Linked DNA regions of Homo sapiens: region 1 is linked to region 2. Evidence: promoter capture Hi-C in human tissues and cell types (Jung and others, 2019). All regions are on one chromosome and are shown on one strand. The core of a region is centred on a gene start or on the middle of the fragment in contact, and the rest is flanking DNA. Distances in the headings are between cores, read along the strand shown. Region 1 overlaps GTPBP1 (GTP binding protein 1). Region 2 holds the start of MICALL1 (MICAL like 1).

Region 1 (4,051 bases), core at 1,080-3,579, 800 kb after region 2:
GGGCCAGCGGCCGCCCTGTCCGCGGGGAGCGCGGAACGGGAAGAAGGGGCCGAGCCCGCCCACCTGCTAGTCTCCGGGACGTGCGGGGGTTCGCGGCGCGAGGGGCCGTCCCCATGGTCCCCGCACCCACCTTGGCTCCCCCGCGTCGCCAACCCAGCCTCCCGCCCTCCCGTCTCCCGCCGAGATCGTAACCCCTCGGCTCTGCCACGTGGAACGGGGGCGCCCGATGCCAGCTGCGCTCCGCGCGTTCCCTGTCCCCGCTCAGTGCCCCTCCCCGTTCTTCGGGTCCCCACTTGAGGGGATTCGGAGACCGAGAGTCTCCTCTCCCTGGACCGCGCGGGACAGCAGAGGGGCGAGGGGGCCCGGGCAGGGGGCCGAGACGCTCATGAAGACAGGTAGTCGGAGGCCAGGGCAGGGTGGCCGCCGCGTCTCTTCCCAGACTCGGGAAAGGAAACAGAAAGTAGTCGCTCAGCTGGGGAGGAGCATGTCCGAGAATGTCTACTTTTCGAGGCCACCCGAAACAAAATGGAAAGATGGTCAGGCTCCTTAGTCTCGCTATCCTGTGAGTGGAAGCTCATCTTGTATGAGTGGAGCAGTGAAGGACGTTTAAAACCGTGTTTTTTGAGCTGTCGAGAAGGTAGGCAGGAATTAAGGCCTCGCCAACGGCTTGACATTGTGAAGAATAGAAAAGTAAATACAAGATGTGACTGGTGTTTTGAAGGTGCTTAACGTTCCTTAGGGAAAGAATGCCAACTTGGGAGTCAGACAGGGCTGGGTTCCCTTTCCTGCCCTACCATCGAAAGGCTCTGTGACGTTGGGAAAGTTTCTTAACCTTTCAGTTCTCCAACCACCTCATCTTAAGAAAGTACAGATGGGTTGTAAAAATTAGAAATATTTAAGAAGACACCTAATAGTGCCTGATGCATACTAGAGACTCAGTAAATGTTTGAAGTGAACGAGATAGTTCCTAATTTCCTGTGCAGATTAAATAGCAGTGGGTGAAAGATAGAACACCAATACCACCACTTACATTTGTAGGATAGTTACGATAGACATTTTATCCAGCTTTGAAAATGTTTGTGACTTTTTATAGTTTATGGCGGCAAATTTGCATGAAACTTGGTCCTAAACTGGGGAGGAACTTTCCCTGCAACCTAAGCAAGTTATTTTCAACTGCTCTTTGCCATTGTAGTCTCAGGTGAGCACTTGGAAGCCAGCTAGCCTGTCAAAGTTGGTCCTGTCTTGTGCCTGTAAGGCCATAATGAGGATGGCCAAACTTAGAGAGAGGGATGGCCAGGACGATGTAAAAGACCCAGGAAACATCCAGGTTACAATTACAAGCTCTGATGAGTCAACTCAGGAAGTTACAAGATTATGGACCTGACTCAAGAGCAAACAAACTGGATGTCAACACATGGTCAAGGTGCTGAAGAAACATGATAGGAAATTGCAGGGCAGAGTTGCAAAGACGGTAGTACCTTCATTTCTTGACCAGCTCATTTAATATTCCTAGAAGTGTTATTTCATCACATAGCTGGGGAAGTCCTCCTTACAATTAAAAAAAATCATATGTATATTAATATCGATGATATCAAAAAGAAAAAGTGATGGTGTGGAGGGAGAGAAGGGTTGGGTTGAATAGATTGATTCCGGAGGAACAGATTAGAAGCGAAAGGTTCATGTCCTTACGATAGAAAATGTGGAGACCTAAGGCTCCGAGAGCTTCCAAAGGGAGAAACACTTAGTGAATAGTGGTGGCTAGTTTCATCCAACAAGGTTTTTCTGGGAATGATTGGGTGAAGAAAACCTTGTAGTTTCACATTTATTGAGCTGTGGACTAGATGCTTTACATGTTATTATATTTGCTCTTTACAGTGGCCTTAGGATGCAGGTAGTATTAGCTCCGTTTTATAGATTGAAAAACTGAAACTCAGAGTGGTTAAATTCTTTGTCCAAGGTCACACAGGAGTGGTTAGAGAATGGGGTCTGATTGCCAAATGGCTTACCCAAGTAAATGGTTGACACTTCAATGTTATTGGCAGACATTTGCAAAATGACGGTGCTAATACTCCTCGTAGTGGTAATGGTGATGGTGCTTTGTTGATGAAGATGAGTCTTGCAGGCAGTTTTCATTCCCAAATATTCAATATAGCTAAGACAAGATAGAACAGAATTCTTTTGTTATCCTGGAAGCCACTGGCCTGTGGGTGGAGGGCATGGAGGTATATGAGGTATATGTCTTGTGGGCTTCCAGATGCCAACTGCAGGTAGAAGACTTTGGCATGTAGATGGAAAGCACTGCGCTTTCTATCCACAGTGCCATATTCTCAGTCACTTGGGTCCTGCCCTTCCTGTTAAGCAGCAGGAGGCAGGCTGCTTGTGCCCTCTTTACCATGGGTTATGGCTCAGACATACACATTGTAGTATATTATTTGGCTCATATAAGGCCTGAGGCTCAAAGGCTACTTCAGGAGAAGCAGAGAGGGCATGAAGGGGCTGTGCAGCCTTTTTAGATGAGGGTGCTATGGGGTTCAGTCAGGATCTTTGGTTAGGCTATATTGATCAGCTTTGGCTGTGGTGCTCTTCTAGCAAGTGTGGTCCTAAGGCTGTTGGTTTCTTTTCTAGCTGGTTCTAGTGAGCCCTACATCAGAGCAGTATGACAGCCTACTTCGGCAGATGTGGGAGAGGATGGACGAGGGATGCGGAGAGACCATATATGTCATTGGGCAGGGATCAGGTGAGCATAGTTTTCCTTTCACTTTATTTTTAAAAATTATTGGGCCGGGTGCGGTGGCCCTGCCGCCTGTAATCCCAGCACTTTGGGAGGCCAAGACGGGTGGATCACCTGAGGTCAGGAGTTCGAGACCAGCCTGGCCAACATGGTGAAACCCCATCTCTACTAAAAATACAAAAAATTAGCCGGGCGCTAATTAGTGGTGGCAGGCGCCTGTAATCCCAGCTACTTGGGAGGCTGAGGCAGAAGAATTGCTTGAACCTGGGAGGCGGAGGTTGCAGTGAGCCAAGATCGTGCCATTGTGCTCCAGCCTAGGCGACAAGAGTGAAACTCTGTCTCAAAAAAAAAAAGAAATTATTTAGAGCACATTTTCCCCGCTTTTTGAACTTTTCTGCTTATGTGTCTCAGTTACAGTGATTCTTTAGTGTCTGCAGAACTGTTTGGAGTACATAAAAGTACAAAGTGAATGTTAATTCTGACCTTAGTGGCCATAATATGCTTGACTTTCCAAGCAGTTTTACAGATGCTTCCTTTTTACCTCCAGTACTCTCTATTTGCATAAGAGGAAATGAAGCACAAAGCAAAGGAACTTCTTGTCTAAGGTAATAGGGCAAGCCATAGTTAGGTCTAGAATTAAGCTTATTCCTGGGCAGCTGGAGGTCTTCCCTTCCAGGCCCTGTTTACAGATCCCATTGCGACTTATTTTCTGCTTAGCAGAGGACCTCCGTGATTCTTCTTGGTGTCAGCAGAGAAAAGATGCCCAGAATTCCTCTCTTGTCAGGCTCCTTGCCCCAGACCCTACTGACTATTTAGTCTGGATAGCTGGGATAACAGAGGTCGTCCTCTCTCCCCACTGGATCCTGTCAGACACATAGGCTTGTAACCATTCTGAAAGGGACTGGTTATTGTTCTCCAAGCTGCTTATTCCTTGTAACAGAACCTACTATTTTAGAGGAAGGCAGCCCTCACAACAATCCCAGAGTATATTATGGTTTCTTCCCCTGGTCACTCCTAGTTAGCAACTTCAATACAAGACCTGCTTACCTTCATCTTCATTATGGGATTATCTTTGCTGAAATGACAGCTGGGGTTGTTAACGATTATGAATTCAGCCCATACCAGCACTTGTCTCTGTCATCTTTGCAGGAAGCCCAGGTGGGCCTGGATGCATCATTAAAGAAACACTTTTCTTTGCTGAATGTAGGCTTTGTAAAGCCAGGTAATAATTCTTTTGTAGTTTGAGTTGAAGATTGAAGAAATCTCAAAATCATTCTTAAACTATTTTATACATATCTATTAAGTATCTTCTAAGGCCTG
Region 2 (4,313 bases), core at 1,626-4,125:
TTACAGTCTGCACAGCATTTTCTCATCCATTATCTCACCTTGTTACCCACAACCCTGGGATTCAGGCAAAGCAAGTATTATCATCCTCATTTTATAGGGTAAGAAATTGGGGTTCATGAGGGTGAGTTGTCTGGCCTGCGGTCACACACTGTGGTCGTACAGGTCCTTACTTCGAAACATTGTGAGCTGACTCAGATAATGAGTTTATAAAGCCCACAAATGGCTAATGGGGGTGACCAGGCTGTGCTGTGTAAGCTATTAGTATGGCAACAGGATCAGATATGGAGCTGTCTTCAGGGACCTAAAGGGAGCCCTTTAGGCTAGTGAGGACAGGGCTATAATCCCTCCTGGTTTCTTTTGTTTGTTTTTGGTTTTTTGTTTTTTAAATGGAATCTCACTCTGTTGCCCAGGCTGGAGTGCAGTGGTGCGATCTCAGCTCACTGCGTCCTCCACCTCCCGGGTTCAAGCCATTCTCCTGCTGGGATTACAGGTGTGTGCCACCACGCCCAGCTAATTTTTTGTATTTTTAGTAGAGATGAGGTTTCACCGTGTTAGCCAGGCTGGTCTCGATCTCCTGACCTCGTGATCTGCCTGCCTTGGCCTCCCAAAGTGCTGGGATTACAGGCGTGAGCCAAAAAAACCCACCATCTTTGAGATGGAGTCTCGCTGTGTCCCCCAGGTTGGAGTACAGTGGCGTGATCTTGGCTCACTGCAACCTCCGCCTCCCAGGTTCAAGCGATTGTCCTGCCTCAGCCTCTCGAGTAGCTGGGACTATAGGCACGTGCCACCACGCCTGGCTAATTTTTTTATTTTTAGTAGACACGGGCTTTCACCATCTTAGCCAGGCTGGTCTTGAACTCCTGACCTCATGATCCGCCCACCTTGGCCTCCCAAAGTGCTGGGATTACAGTGAGCCACCGCGCCTGGCCCAATTTTTTGTATTTTTAGTACAGACGGGGTTTCACTATGTTGGCCAGGCTGTTCTCAAGCTCTTGACCTCAGGTGATCCACCTGCCTCGGCCTCCCAAAATGCTGGGATTACAGGTATGAGCCATGGTGCCCAACCCCGCCCCCCTTAGGTTTTAATGAGAGTCCTGGGTGGTCTTTGAAGGCCTAGGTGGATGCTGGTGTCAGGATCCTGAACCCAAGTCCCTGATTTCATAAAAAGCATCCGGAATCCTGCTTTCCTGCCACTGTTATCCCACAGGGGACAGGGCAGGAGTTGGCAGCTCAGGGCTGGTGAGAAGTCCAGAGGGCTAGCCAGGCACTCTGGCCATGCTCTTCCTAGGTGGCCTGAGAGTCCATATACTGAGCCAAGATGGCGGCCTTCCAGTTGCAGGAGTGTTAGGCCAGCCCAGATTGGCAAGCTGGGTTCTCCAGGCCCTGGGCCAGTATTCTGGACTGGGACTCAGTGGACTTTGAAGAGGTAGAATTCCCTAAGTCGGCCTCTCTCCTTGATAATTTACCCAGAATGGCCCAGATGACAATCTGGGTACAAAATATTTCAGTCCATTTCATCATGTTTACCAAGTACCAGGAGTCAATAGAATTTATGAGTGATAACTAAAGGGTAAGGCACTTTACATCTTAATCCTCTCAGCCACCTTGTAAAGCAGGTATTATCTCCATTTTTAAGTCGTGGAAACTGAGGTCCAGGGAGGCACAAGATCACATGACTAAGGGAGTGGGGAAAGCCAGGATTGGAGATTGGGTTAATAGGGCTCCAAAATGCCTGATCTTTCCACTCCCCTGAGTGCTCAGGGGTGATGAAGATGACTAAGACCCTGTTCCTTCCCTTGGGAGGGAGCGAAATACCCACTCCAGCTAACTATTGCATGGGTCAGGGTGACATCACCACCTCTGCAGCAGATGGAGGCTGATTCATCTGTGGGAGAGTCAGGAGGGGCCTCTGCGGAAGGGTCGGCTGGCTGGAAGGGTTGGCTGGCTGGAAGGGTCGGTTGGCTGGCGGGGGTTTTGAAGACGGCAAAGATAGAGAATGAGCCTTGGGGAGGTTCCAGGGCCAGATACAAACTGCCTGTATGCCTCCCAGGCAGGGGCCTCCTTGGCCTAGGTCCTTCCCATAGGAACTCAAACCACCACCACACTAACCATGGCTGAGGGGACCCGGCAGGCCGCAGTGGGGAGGGACGAGATCCCTGAGCTTACACAGGGGCTGAGGGGAGCTCAGTGAATCACCTAGGGGACACCTGGACCAAAGGTGGCGGAGGGGCGCATGGGTCTCCCTGCCAAGCTATGGGGGAGGGGATGGTGGACATGACAACTTCCAGCTCAGCGGTGCTTTAGGGTGGGGAGCCGGGATGAGGGAAGCTGGTGGCTATCCGGGGGGGGGTGCTCTGAGGTCTGCAGGGGAACTGCCTCCCCAAAGTTTCAAGCTAGGGGTGGAAGGGGGGATTTGCGGTCATTAGGAGCGGGAAGGAGGCCGGATGGGAGCACGAGGTGTCCCGCCTCCAAAGGGTGGAGGGCTCCCGGTGGGTGGCGCGGCGGCGGCCGCGGCGGTGAAGTCATCGTGGGGAGTGGTCCGCTTGCGGCGGGTGCGGGGGCTTCGCGGGCACCCAGTGGAGCAGCGGGAGCCCGGCGCCGTCGAGGGGCGGGCGATGGGGCGCCGGCCCGTCTTGGTAGGGGTGGGCTCCGCACTGGAGGCGGAGCTGCTGCTGGGTGGGGCGCGCCTCCGGCGCGGACGGAGGCGGCGGGACGCCCGCTCCCACGACCGGCCCACAATGAGGCGAGCGGGCAGCGCGGAGTAGGCGGCGGCCGGCCGGGCCGGGCCACGCGGCGGCGCTGCTCGGGCAGGTTAGGGCAGGGCCGCGGGGCGCCCGAGCGAGGACACCGCGGCCCCGCCTCCGCCCCTCCCCTCGCCTGCCGGTCGGCGCCCGAGCTCGGAGCCGCAGCCGCAGCCGGAAACCGGGCCCGCGCGGCGGCCGCCGTCCCGGCCAAGCCGGGGCCCCGAAGCCAGAGCCGGAGCCGGGCGGGCCGCGGGGTCATGGCTGGGCCGCGGGGCGCGCTGCTGGCCTGGTGCCGCCGCCAGTGCGAGGGCTACCGCGGCGTGGAGATCCGCGACCTGAGCAGCTCCTTCCGGGACGGCCTGGCCTTCTGCGCCATCCTGCACCGGCACCGGCCCGACCTGCTGTGAGTGCGGGGCCCCGGGCGAGCGGGCGGCGCGGGGCGGGCTGGGGCCGCGACCGCCGCCCCCCCTCAGTAACACGAAGCCCGGGCGGTGACAGGCGCCGCCCCCGGACACGGAGACGCCGACCCCCCCGACGGCCCCGGACGCCGGGCGGGTCCCTGAGACCCCGGCCCAGGGCGCCCCTCCCCCGCCCGGCCGCCCTGACCCCGCCCGTGGGATCCCGAACTCTCCCCCGAGGCTGGTCCCTCCGCGGGGACACTGGCCCCGCCCACAAAGCGCTGATTTCCGCCGAGGATCGCTGAACCCCTAAGCCCTTGACCTCTTTGAAGGGGTGTTGAGCCCTCTTTGGGGGCCCTGGGCCTCTCCTACCCTAAACTCTTCTCCACGGGCTCGCCGGGCCTCCCCTCTCCCCCGAGGCTTCCCACTCGGGGTGGCCCCTTGCTCCGGGTGTGCAGGTGAACCCCCACTTCTCTGACCCCCAAATAGGAGCTTGTCTCCGGACAGTAGCACAGTTCCCGGCACAGAGGAGACCTCGGCTAACAGGTGTTGGATGAATGGATGTACAGACCCTGTGCTTTCCCCACGCCCCCCAACTTAGGACGCAGCCCTGCCTCCCGGGTGTGTGCTCGATGGCCCTGCAGCCCTCCTCAGTGGGGCACGCAGGTGGGGCGCGCAAGAGGAGTCACAGGCCGGCAATGTTGGGAAGACTCCTAGGATCCGATTGATAGACACCAACCGGGTGCTGCAGGTTGTGAAATGGCCCCTTCCTGCCCAGAGCTGCCCAATGAGGTTCTCATGGGAAAATGCATTCAGACTCCCCGGAACAGTTGACTTGGAGCCTCTGTCTTTGCTCTCTCTGCCTTGAGCCCTGGAACCTCTCCTCCTTTCGTCCCTTCATTCCTAAAACACTGGGTGAGTTTATCTGGTGCCATTCCTTGCACTTCAGGTCTCACCTGTGAATCAGGGAGGAGAGTTCTGGTCCCTACCCCTTTCGCATGCAGCCCTCTTGCCAGGGCTCCCCCAGCCTGGCAGATGGAGGCTTTCTGTGCCTGTTCCACCTCCAGATTTGCACTGTCCGAGGGCAGCATGTGGGAAGGCTTCTAAGGGATTGCCTCAGGATTCCATGATGCAGGTGCACCTGGTTTACCTGTATGTACCCTGCAGTACC

The links. The method cuts DNA at HindIII sites, captures the fragments that hold promoters and counts their contacts. A contact is called where the count stands out against the background at its distance.
Region 1: a fragment that was not itself captured here is called in contact with the fragment with the promoter of MICALL1 in region 2 in 1 of the 25 tissues and cell types used here (lymphoblastoid cells).

Annotation. Positions count from the first base shown.
Region 1 is chr22:38,706,220-38,710,270 of GRCh38, forward strand. It overlaps GTPBP1 (GTP binding protein 1), which reads left to right. Exons shown (of 12, transcript NM_004286.5): 2 at 2,626-2,737. Among named protein-coding and RNA genes, the nearest start is that of GTPBP1, 2.3 kb to the left of the region's middle. RefSeq lists silencers at 1-53, 234-373 and an enhancer at 1-540. The HindIII fragment of the contact is 3,166 bases long and covers 747-3,912 here.
Region 2 is chr22:37,903,422-37,907,734 of GRCh38, forward strand. It overlaps MICALL1 (MICAL like 1), which reads left to right and starts at 2,876. Exons shown (of 16, transcript NM_033386.4): 1 at 2,876-3,147. The coding sequence starts at 3,002. RefSeq lists enhancers at 1,567-2,382, 2,383-3,198, 3,199-4,014, 4,015-4,313 and silencers at 2,489-3,208, 3,319-3,428. The HindIII fragment of the contact is 31,369 bases long and covers 1-4,313 here.